Linked DNA regions of Homo sapiens: region 1 is linked to region 2. Evidence: promoter capture Hi-C in human tissues and cell types (Jung and others, 2019). All regions are on one chromosome and are shown on one strand. The core of a region is centred on a gene start or on the middle of the fragment in contact, and the rest is flanking DNA. Distances in the headings are between cores, read along the strand shown. Region 1 overlaps TMEM44 (transmembrane protein 44). Region 2 holds the start of CPN2 (carboxypeptidase N subunit 2).

What was found. The method cuts DNA at HindIII sites, captures the fragments that hold promoters and counts their contacts. A contact is called where the count stands out against the background at its distance.
Region 1: a contact is called between a fragment that was not itself captured here and the fragment with the promoter of CPN2 in region 2, in 1 of the 25 tissues and cell types used here (aorta).

The regions. Positions count from the first base shown.
Region 1 is chr3:194,606,022-194,611,310 of GRCh38, reverse strand. It overlaps TMEM44 (transmembrane protein 44), which reads left to right. Exons shown (of 10, transcript NM_001011655.3): 8 at 291-395. It overlaps LOC105374291 (a long non-coding RNA gene), which reads right to left. Exons shown (of 4, transcript XR_007096222.1): 4 at 4,312-5,289. Among named protein-coding and RNA genes, the nearest start is that of TMEM44-AS2, 24 kb to the left of the region's middle. The HindIII fragment of the contact is 4,521 bases long and covers 136-4,656 here.
Region 2 is chr3:194,350,045-194,356,104 of GRCh38, reverse strand. It overlaps CPN2 (carboxypeptidase N subunit 2), which reads left to right and starts at 4,777. Exons shown (of 2, transcript NM_001080513.4): 1 at 4,777-4,863. It overlaps LRRC15 (leucine rich repeat containing 15), which reads left to right. Exons shown (of 2, transcript NM_130830.5): 2 at 1-856. RefSeq lists an enhancer at 4,452-5,301. The HindIII fragment of the contact is 16,925 bases long and covers 1-6,060 here.

The sequences.
Region 1 (5,289 bases), core at 1,147-3,646, 260 kb before region 2:
ACCAACCTGGTCAGTACAGTGAAACTGGTCTCTACAAAAAATAAAATAAAATAAAAAAGATTCCTAGCTGATTCTACTGTGTTGCAAAATTTGGGAAACACTAAATGACTGTGGCCTCGAAGAGAAAGATAAGACACATCTTATAGGAAGCAGAAAGTGAGACGTGCCGTTAAAAAAGAGAGAGAGAAAATACCACGGGGGTCCTTTTGAATAAAATGTGACCTTGTTTTTAGAAAATGCCTCCTGACTTTGAGAATTCCCCTTTCTGTCTCCCTGCCTCTACTTGCAAGAATTTGGATTGGGTGCCTCTCACCACACTGTCACACTGCAAGTCACTGAGGACAATGACAGCAATCAGTCGCTACATGGAGCTGACCATCGAGCCTGTGCAGCAGGTGAGTGGCCATCGGTCATGGCCAGGTGTCTGAGAGGATGGGAAGCAGTCATGGAAGGCTTCCTGGAGGAGGTGATGCTTTAGCTGAGGGATGAGCAGGAGAAAACAAGAGAAGCAGGTAAAAAAGAAGGAGCTGTCCAAGGCTGCAGTGGAGGGGCAGATATGGGGGAGTGTTGGAGAGAAAAATATTTTCCCTGTCCCCTCTGATGAAACACAGAGTAACAAGAAAAAACAGCTTTAAATGTACAAAGAAAAATGTGGCTCAAGGAGGTGGCCAGTTGATGGAGGCGTATATACCATATTAGGCTAAATCAAGAAAAAGAGGTTTGGGGTTCTGGGGTGGGAGGCAAGGTGAGGGAGGACCTGTGTGGGAAATAAGGGTTTTCTTGCTATGCAGGTGAGAGTCTCTCGGGTGGAAGTAGCTCTCTTCCTGGTGCAGAAATATCTTTACAAATGGAAATTTCCTTTATGAAAGGGAAAATGTGTACTCTCTTTTCAGGCAGTTAGGGGAGGTTAATAGCTTCTGCTTCTGCTGGTTTTCAAAGACCTTTAGATCTAAGGAATCCATATGCTAAAGAGGCATATTTCGGGGTGGTATATGCTGGTACCATTTAGGAGTGAGGGGAGATGAAAGGGCTGGAGGAGGCAGGGGTCGGGTCGTTTAGACACGGAGTCTATCATCTTTTTCTCTCTTTTTTTTTTTTGAGACACTCTGTCGCCCAGGCTGGAGTACAGTGGCATGATCTCAGCTCACTGCAGCCCCCCGGGTTCAAGTGATTCTCCTACCTCAGCCTCCAGAGAAACTGAGACTACAGGAGCCTGCCACCACGCCCAGCTAATTTTTGTATTTTTACTAGAGACGGGGTTTCACCATGTTAGCCAGGCTGGTCTCGATCTCTTGACCTCGTGATCTGCTGGCCTCGGCCTCCCAAAGTGCTGGGACTACAGGTGTGAGCCACTGCGTCCGGCCGTGTCTATCATCTTGAGAGTGATGGGAGTCAGGAGGCTTGAGTACTGGAGACTCAGGGTCAGATGTGCATTTTAGAGCCATCTGGGGAAGTTGTTGCGGGTGGCCTGGGGGAGAGGAGAGTAGCAGCCGAGCAGTCAGTCAGGGCCAGTTGGAAGCCCGAGGAAAAGGAAGTGTGGCCTAAACTGAGGTTGGAGCAGACGGAGAAGCAGAGACAGAGTTGAGCGAGTTGGGAAGTGGAGCGCTGGAGGGGTGAGGAGGTGCGGGTGAGGGAGGCAGGGCTCCGGGTGACTCCCTGAGTTCTGGCCTACACGAGGGGTCCTCAGGAGGAAGAGAATTGGGAAAGAGGTGACGAGAAGTTCACCCCATGTCCCACTATTCCACCAAGACTGTCTTGTCGAGGTCACCGATGACCTCCAAGCTGCTAAGTCCACCATCATTCCATTCTGAGAGTCCACGCACTCGGCCACCAGCTGCTCCTGGCGTCTGTGGCCCCCACTCTTCTGTGTTTCCTGCCACCCTCACAGGCTCTTCTTTCCCCTCGGCCTCTGCTGGCTCCTCTGGGTAAGCTTGACTGTAGAGAGGGAGTCCAACGCCCTGTCCCAGGCAGGCTCCCTGCTCCTGGTGGGCCCTGCAGTCCCACAGTCCCCTCGCTCTGCACACCAGTTCTTGCTGACTTCCCCCATTCGTGTCTCCGTCCTTTCCCCTCCCCTCAGTTCCCATCTCGGCTGCCCAGCTGCCCATTCAGCTGTCACCATATGGCATCTCACGCTTACCTCGTCCAACACAGAATTCTGGATTTCCATGCCCAGACCGGCTCCTCTCCCCATCTTCCTCATCTTAGTAAATGACGCACTGTCTTTGCAGTGGTTCAAGCCCAAAATTCCTCTTTCCCTGGCCACACCCCCATGCCCATCCATTCCTTTTGAGAGTCCTGTAAATGCTTCCTTATTTAAACTAGGTCTTGAGTCCAGCAGCCTCCTGGCTGTCATCCTCTCCACTTCTTCTGTGGTCCTGCCCTGCCCATCTCTAACGAGCAGCCAGAGGGATCATTCACAAATGTAAATGACATCTTGTTCCTCCTTTGTTTAAAACACTCCTCTGGGCCAGAGCTCTTGGTGGCCCACACCTGTAATCCTAATACTTTGGGAACCTGAGGTAGGAGTATCGCTTGAGGCCAGGAGTTCGAGACCAGCCTGGACCACATAGCGAGACCCCATCTCTCGTCTCCTGTTCACTCCTGTCTAGCTGCACAGAGTTTCTCTCCATTCCTCTGCCCAGAATGCTCTCCCTCCTGATTTTTCACAGCTGCCTCTTTCTTGTCTTTCCAGCTTCAACGTAAATGTCTGCTTCTCCAGAGCTCTTCCCTAACCACCCAGTCCGAAGCAGGACCCGTCTGTCCTTCTCCTCTATTTTATTACCTATTGAAATTCTCTGCAAAGCACTTATCACGATCTTTTACTTTGGTTTGTCTGTGTCCTGCTGAGATGTAAACTTTATCTCCTGTCTCGTTGACTCCTGGTGCCTATAACCTTGCAGTCCTGGGCTCTCAGTAAAGGTGTGTTTTGAATATATGGTCCAGTGGTGAGGGCCCCTGCCAGGCTGCCCAGACACACCGGTGCCCGGAGAGACTCGGCTGAGAGAGAGGTTTTGCTGTTTGCTGTTGTTGCTCCTTGTATACTGGGTGCACAGAACCTTGTGTATGACCTAAGTGAAGTTCAGAGAGATTCAGAGCATGCCTTTGTAGCTAAGAGCCCACTTCAGCCATTAAACCATCCTTCCGAAGGGAGGGAGGAGGCAGGGTGTGTGGGGAACCCTTGGGAAGGCACGGGAGTTCCTGCAGCATCTGGCCAAAGCTTTGCACTGGGAAGTTCTACATCATGGGACTTCTGAAGGAGAATGTGTAAAAGTTGTATTCACTTTAACCCTTCCAGTAGCTCAGTGTCGAAGGGATTCTTGTTGGGGAACAGACTCCATGAAAGAAGAGTGTGTTCCACCTTCATTCCCTCCCACTGAAGCCCACAAGTGCGTCTTTGAGCTTCCACCCAGCTTTTTCCTTCTGTGTCCATCAGAGGGCTAGAGGGAGCCCCGAGCCCCACTGTCCAGCTGGGCTGGCAGGTGCCTCCCTCAGCACTAGGGGCACCCCTCCCATCATAGCCTGTCTACTGAGGGTTAGGGACTTGCCAGGCTCTGAGTAAACAACAGCAGCCAACACTTACGTGGTACTTATGGGCCAGAGTACTGGTCTAAGTGCTTTACACACATTAACTTGCCCCACAGCCGACTCCTGAGTATTATACTCATTTTACAGATAAGGAAACTGGGGGCTGGAGCAGTTAAGTGACCTGCTCAAGGTCACACAGTTTGTCAGTGATAGAACCGGATTCAGACCTGTCTCTACCCGAGTTTGTGCCATTGACCTCTATGCTGTACAGCCTTGTACTTGGCATAATGACACCAAGTAAACACTTGATAAATGGCGATTTATTATTAATAAAATAATACTGTTTACCATGTAAGTGTTAATAAAAATGAGCCCAACAACTGTATGAGGAAGGATCCTAGTGTGTTTTGCATTGCCATAAAGGAACACCTGAGGCTGGGTAATTTAGAAAGAATAGAGGTTTATGTGGCTCGTGGTTCTGCATGTTTACGTGGTGCCAGCATCTGCACTGGTGAGGCCTCAGGCTGCCTCCACTCATGGGGGAAGGCAAAGGCAAGCAGGCTTCACATGGCAGGAGAGAGAGGAAGGGGTGCCAGGCTCTTTCTAACAAGCAGTTCTTGCAGAACAAAGTGAGAGCTCACTTACCAGAAGGGCCCTTCCACCAGGATCCAGACACCTCCCACCAGGCCCCACTTCCAACACTGGGATCACATTTCAACATGAGACACGCTGGGGCCAAACAAACCACATCCAAACCATAGCAGAGAGATACTATTATTATTTCTATTTTGTTTTATTTTTATTTTTTCTTTTATTCTTTCCTTTTTTTTTTTGAGGCAGAGTCTCGCTCTGTCGCCCAGGCTGGAGTGCAGTGGCACAATCACGGCTCACTGTGACCCACACCTCCTGTGTTCAAGAGATTCTCGATTCTCATGCCTCAGCCTCCCAAATAACTGAGACTATGGGCATATGCCACCATGCTTGGCTATTTTGTGTGTGTGTATTTTTAGTAGAGAAGGGGTTTCGCCATGTTGTCCAGGCTGTTCTCAAACTCCTGACCTCAAGTGATCCGCCTGCCTCGGCCTCCCAAAGTGCTGGGATTACAGGTGTGAGCCACCGTGCCTGGCCTGTATCTATTATTATTATTTTATTAACAATTAATAATGTTATTTTAAATTGAGGCACAGAGAGGTTAAGTAACTTGCCCAAGATCCTACAGTTAGAAAAATCACAGAAAGAGGATTCAAACTAAGCCTGCCCGATTCAGGGACCTGGGCTTTTATGAAGAGAATATGCTCTCTGTGCTGCCGCTTTGTACCTGCTCGGTTAGCAGTTTTAAACACTGTTGTAATGTGAATATCCCAATGGGCAAGACTGTGGGGAAACAGGCACCCTGTTGGCCGTGTCCACTGATACATATCCCATTAGAAGGGCCATCTGGAAATGGGTAAGGAGAGCTGCAGAGGTGCTCCCTTGTTTTCCCAGCAAGCCCCCTGAGCACTGGTCCTAAGGAGCGATTTTCCAGGAGACGCAGCGGGAGCAGCACTGTGGTTCAGGCTGAGCCTCCAGAGGGGCAGAGGGGTCCCATGGGGCCATATGGATCAAATCCTGCATCCTCGGCTTGGAGTGTTTGAAAATTCTGTTTTATCTTTTGACGCAGGTGTGGTCAGGCCTTGGGCATTTATAGAATTTGTCATTGTTGTTCCTGGGAGGCATCTGCTTCCCCACTCCCATCCAGAGCCTTCTGTTTCAGCATCCTTCCCA
Region 2 (6,060 bases), core at 3,528-6,027:
GTTTTATTTATCTCTTCAAACTTTGTACAAGAGCTCATGGCTTGTCTTGGGCTTTCGTCATTAAACCAAAGGAAATGGAAGCCATTCCCCTGTTGCTCTCCTTAGTCTTGGTCATCAGAACCTCACTTGGTACCATATAGATCAAAAGCTTTGTAACCACAGGAAAAAATAAACTCTTCCATCCCTTAAAGAATAGAATAGTTTGTCCCTCTCATGGGAATTGGGCTGTATGTATATTGTTCTTCCTCCTTAGAATTTAGAGATACAAGAGTTCTACTTAGAACTTTTCATGGACACAATTTCCACAACCTTTCAGATGCTGATGTAGAGCTATTGGGAAAGAACTTCCAAACTCAGGAAGTTTGCAGAGAGCAGACAGCTAGAGATAACTCGGGACCCAGAGTTGGTCGACAGATGTTAGATGTATCCTAGCTTTTAGCTATAAACCACTCAAAGATTCAGCCCCCAGATCCCACAGTCAGAACTGAATCTGCGTTGTTGGGAAGCCAGCAGTGGCCTTGGGAAGGAAGCCATGGCTGTGGTTCAGAGAGGGTGGGCTGGCAAGCCACTTCCGGGGAAAACTCCTTCCGCCCCAGGTTTCTTCTTCTCTTAAGGAGAGATTGTTCTCACCAACCCGCTGCCTTCATGCTGCCTTCAAAGCTAGATCATGTTTGCCTTGCTTAGAGAATTACTGCAAATCAGCCCCAGTGCTTGGCGATGCATTTACAGATTTCTAGGCCCTCAGGGTTTTGTAGAGTGTGAGCCCTGGTGGGCAGGGTTGGGGGGTCTGTCTTCTGCTGGATGCTGCTTGTAATCCATTTGGTGTACAGAATCAACAATAAATAATATACATGTATACATGGGCTGTGTGTGCTCTCTATGGAAGTCTTGGGTAGGTGGTCTCACACCTGTGGATTCTGCTCTTCTATGTTTGTGCAAGGTTGAACTGGACAGATCCTTACAGAAAGCAGATTCTGGGCTGAGAATAGGCCTTTGGAAAGTGAGTGGGAGGCCGGGTGCGGTGGCCCACACCTGTAACCCCAGCACGTTGAGAGGCCGAGGTGGGTGGATCACCTGAGCTCAGGAGTTCAAGACCAGCCTGGCCAACATGGCAAAAACCCATCTCTACTAAAAATACAAAAATTAGCCAGGCATGGTGGTGTGTGCCTGTAATCCCAGCTACTCGGGAGGCTGAGACAGGAGAATCTCTTGAACCCAGGAGGCAGAGGTTGCAGTGAGCCAAGGTTGTGCCACTGCCCCTCCAGCCTGGGCAACAGAGTGAGACTCCATCTCAAAAAAAAAAAAAAAAAAAGAAAAGAAAGAAAAGAAAATAAGTGGGGACCCAAAAGAAAATAACAAATGGTATCTATAGGCCACCGTGGCTGGAAAAGACCTGAAGGATAAGTTCAATCCATTTTATAGATGAGGAAAAGGAGCTCAAGACAGGAAATGAATGTCCAATAGTCACCAGTAAGCCAGTGGCTGAGCCAGCCCTGCAACCCAGGCCTTCAGGCTCCCAGGCTGGTTCTTTTATGCCACCAGGAAGCCACTGACGTTCTGTCAGCATTTGTTCAAAGCACACGTGTGTATGCACACACACACATGCATGCAGGCAGGTGGCAGGACTATGTTACACACCTCTGGACTCCTCTAAGTACTTAGCACCAGGCTCAGGAAGTCCCAGGCTCTCAGGCAACACTGTCTGAAGGAAGGTGACTCCCTCCAAGTGTCCAGGTGTCTCCAGAACTCCCTCAGGCCTTTGGGTTCTGGGGGTGCCACAGCTGCTGGTGCAGGTCCAGCAGTTAAGAGAGGGGTGATCTGCTGTCCCTGTCCCTTTATCCCATGATTATACACAGGAAAAGGGCTTCCAATCATATTTACCTGGACTCTTCTAGTGTCTTAGATCCCTTCTGCCAGGTGTAAGCCTGTCCCAGGAGATTAAGCCCAACAGGGGTCAGTCATGTTCATCATATTACAGGGCTGGACCCCTCCCATGAGCAAGGCAGGGCCTTGTTGCCCTTCCCTAGCCACTGAACCTTAGTACACTCAAACAGCTTTCTGGAATTTTGGATAATGGGGAAAGGAGTTAGAATCTCCATCCCTTCTCTTTCAGAAGATCCTTGAAATTTTTTTGTTTGTTTGTTTGAGGCAAAGTCTCATTCTGTCACCCAGGCTGGAGTGCAGTGGCGCGATCTTGGCTCACTGCAACCTCCATCTCCCGGGTTCAAGCGATTCTCCTGCCTCAGCCTCCCTAGTTGCTGGGACTACGGGCACATGCCACCACACCCAGCTAATTTTTGTATTTTTAGTAGAGATGAGGTTTCACCATATTGGCCAGGATGGTCTCGATCTCCCGATCTCATGTTCCACCCACCTCGGCCTCCCAAAGTGCTGGGATTACAGGCGTGAGCCACCTCGCTTGGCTGATCCTTGGAATTTTTAATGCAAGTCCCCTTCCACAGATGTTTCACCCTACACACACACTCTCTCTCTCTGTCTCCTACCTCCCCAGGCCTTCTGCCACACCCATTCCACAGACGAGAATGCAGAGACTTGTAGAGATTAAATCACTTGTCTAAGGACTGACTAGTTAGTTGAAGAGTCAGAATTCAAACCTAGATCTGTCCAATGCCAAATTTCTCTTGTTCACCAGGCCACGTTGACCAATGAACAAACGGTGTTGCTGGAGGCGAGTGTGGATGGCTTGAGAACCTTGAGTACAGGGCAGTGCCAGGCTCTTCCCAGAACTGCTTGTGAGTGCCCCCACGCAAGCCATTTTTCCCAGCCACTGTCCCACCCTTGCCAGCCCGGGGGCCGCTGAGGGGGAGCTGGGCACACTGTTCACCGCCTGTCTCCATCCCAGAGGCTCCCGCTGTCCTCTGCCAGAGTGCATTTGTGGCATATCGCCACTGAAACACACTTCCTTGCCACACTCCATTAGACCTTTGCAGTTTGGCTGATGCAATCAGCTCACGTGCAAAAGAAACATTAATTTGTACTCATAAAAAGCGTAGATAAAAATCAATACCATGCAATGAGTGAAAAAGCCATCAGTCTACTTTAAATGGTAGACTCCTGGCATTGAAACGATCTTAGACTGCTCGTCCAGGTCACCCCTTCACCCTGCTCGCCTCCACACACCCACTCCTACGCTCTCACCACACACCCACATACATCCTCACACTCACACTCACTCAGTGCACACTCACACATACCCACTCACCACACACCACACACACACATACCCCAACACACTCACACCTACTGCACACACGCACACCCACCCATTCACCACACACACCACACACCCACACACTGCACACACACACCCACTCACCACACACATACACCCACACACCCACTCACTGCACACTCACACCCACTTACCACACATTTTCTCACACACTCTCATTCTACACACACGAGACATACTCATGCATATACACACCCACTTATACCACACACACCCCTACACCCACTTACACACACCCACTCACACATACACCCACTTACACACACTGCACACCTACACACACGCACTCACCACACACACCCCTACACCCATTCACACATATACCCACTCACACCCCCCACACCCACACGCACGCACTCACCAAACACTCCCCTACACCCACTTACATACCCATTCACACATACACCCACTTACACACGCACTCACCACACACACCGCTACACCCATTCACACATATACCCATTTACACACACACACCCCACACCCACACGCATGCACTCACCAAACACTCCCCTACACCCACTTACACACGCACTCACCACACACACCTTTACACCCACTCACACATACACCCACTTACACACACATCACACATGTGCTCTCACCACACACACTCCTACACTCACATACACACGCCCACTCACATATACACCCTCTTTACATACCACACCCCCACACACGCACTCACCACACACACCCCTACACCCACTCACACATACACCCACACACGCACCCACACACGCACTCACCACACACACACCCTACCCACGCGCGCACACACCCACTCACACATACACCCACTTACACACACAACACACCCCCACACATGCACTCACCACACACCCCCTACAGCCACTCACATTTACACCCACTTACATGCACACCCCCAGATGCACGCACTCAGCACACACACACTCCGTGTGTCTTGCAGCCCTGGTTCCACACCTCCGGAGATGGGAAAATCCCTCCCTTCCAAAGCAGCATCTTTCGTCCTCGGCCAGCCCTGAGTGTGTGAGCGCTCCTCTCCATATTGGGCCCCAATTCATCTCCCTATAGCTTTTCCCCCTTCTAATTCAGGAAGGGTTTAGAAAGTTCATTCATTAAACAAGCAAACAAACACAACAAGACAAAACAACAAATCCACAGCCCTCTTGAAATGCCTCCGGGCGCTGAGAGCCCAGCAGGGGCCTGAGGCTGAAGGCAGGCTCCCAGTCCCTCTGCCTCTGCTCACAGGTATGGGTGTGAGCGTGGACCCCATCCCAGGCCTCACCAACCCAGCCGCCTGCGGGAATCTCTAGAGCTTTCTGAGTGTCCTCGGGGTCCTGAAGGTGCCAACCCTGCAACCTCGGTGGGATTTTGGCCCCGGCAGGGCTCTGTACATGGGAGGAGTTCAGGGTCATTTTGTAATCTTCAGAGGCCTTGCCAAGGCCCTCTCCCGTCCTGTGACCCTGGTGACATTCTGGGACGCTGGGGCCACGTGAGGGGAGGAACCACTGCCTGGAACTTTGATCAGCGCTGGGGCTGGATTGAGCTGACCACAGGCCACACCAGACTCCTCTCTGCTCCTGAGGAAGACAGGGCAGCCCGGCGCCACCCGCTCGGCCCTCACGGTAGGCTCCCGGGGTCGCTGAAGGGCTCCAGGGTCTGCAGGGACGTGGGGGCAGGAACGGGAACTTGCGATCTCCCCCGTTTCAGAGCATTCCGCAGCTCCAGGCAGGCTGCGGTTCTGGGGGGCCCCTGCCCCGGGAGGAGAAGTCCCTGAGGTGCTCAGCTAGGGCGCTGCTGGGAAGAGGCAGGAGGAAGGTGGGGCGGGGGTTTGTGAGATGAAGATCTGCCAGTCCTGGCCTACAAGGCTGGTAGTGAGTAGAGGATAAGCAGGGTGACCAGATGTCCAGGTTGGCCTGGTTCTGCCTAGTTTATACTTGTCATCTTGGCATAATAATAATAAATAGTATTACTAATTACTTATTAATCCTATATTAATACTAAATATTATTAATTATTTATTAATATAATTATTGTTTTTTGAGATGGGGGTCTTGTTATGTTGCTCAGGCTGGTCTTGAACTCCTGGCTTCAAGCGATCCTCCCACTCAGCCTGCTGAGTAGCTGGGATTACAAGCGCATGCCACAGCACCCAGCTCAGGCCCAAGGATGACTAGCTCCTGGTTTCCTTCCCAGAAGCGTGCTGGCTCATATAATAAAGTTTGTGGTGAAATAAACCTGCAGGGGGCCACCTTTTATTGAACATTCAGTATGTGCCAGGCGCTGTGTTAAGGGCTTTCTATTTACTATCTTATTTAGCCTATTTATCATCCAATGGAGTGCTAATTTGAACTCTGAGGGCAGAGGTGATAATTAAGTCTGGAAAACCTGAGGCTTAGAGAGTTGGAGTGATTTGCACAAGCCCACACCGCTAGTAGGTGATGGCGTCAGAATCTGATCCCAGCTGGGGGCACTGGCGGAGCTAAAGTGCTTTCCCCTGCTACTAAGCAGGATGAGAGTAAGGCCTGAGATGCGAAGTCACTGAAAGCCACAAACACATTCCTTCAATTCAGCACACAGGGCCTGACTGCCTTCTCAGTGCCTGGCCCCGAGCCAGGTGCTGGGGTGCAGAGCTGCTTGCAGAGACACCACAGCAAGACTGCAGTACCACGGGCTCAGTCGGGTGGGTGCAACTGACTAGAAAACAGAGCGGAAGAGCCCAAACATTCAACACAGTACAAGAGGGATCCGAGGACCCAAGAAAGGGCCGAGCGCGGTGGCTCACGCCTGTAATCCCAGCACTTTGGGAGGCCGAGGCAGGC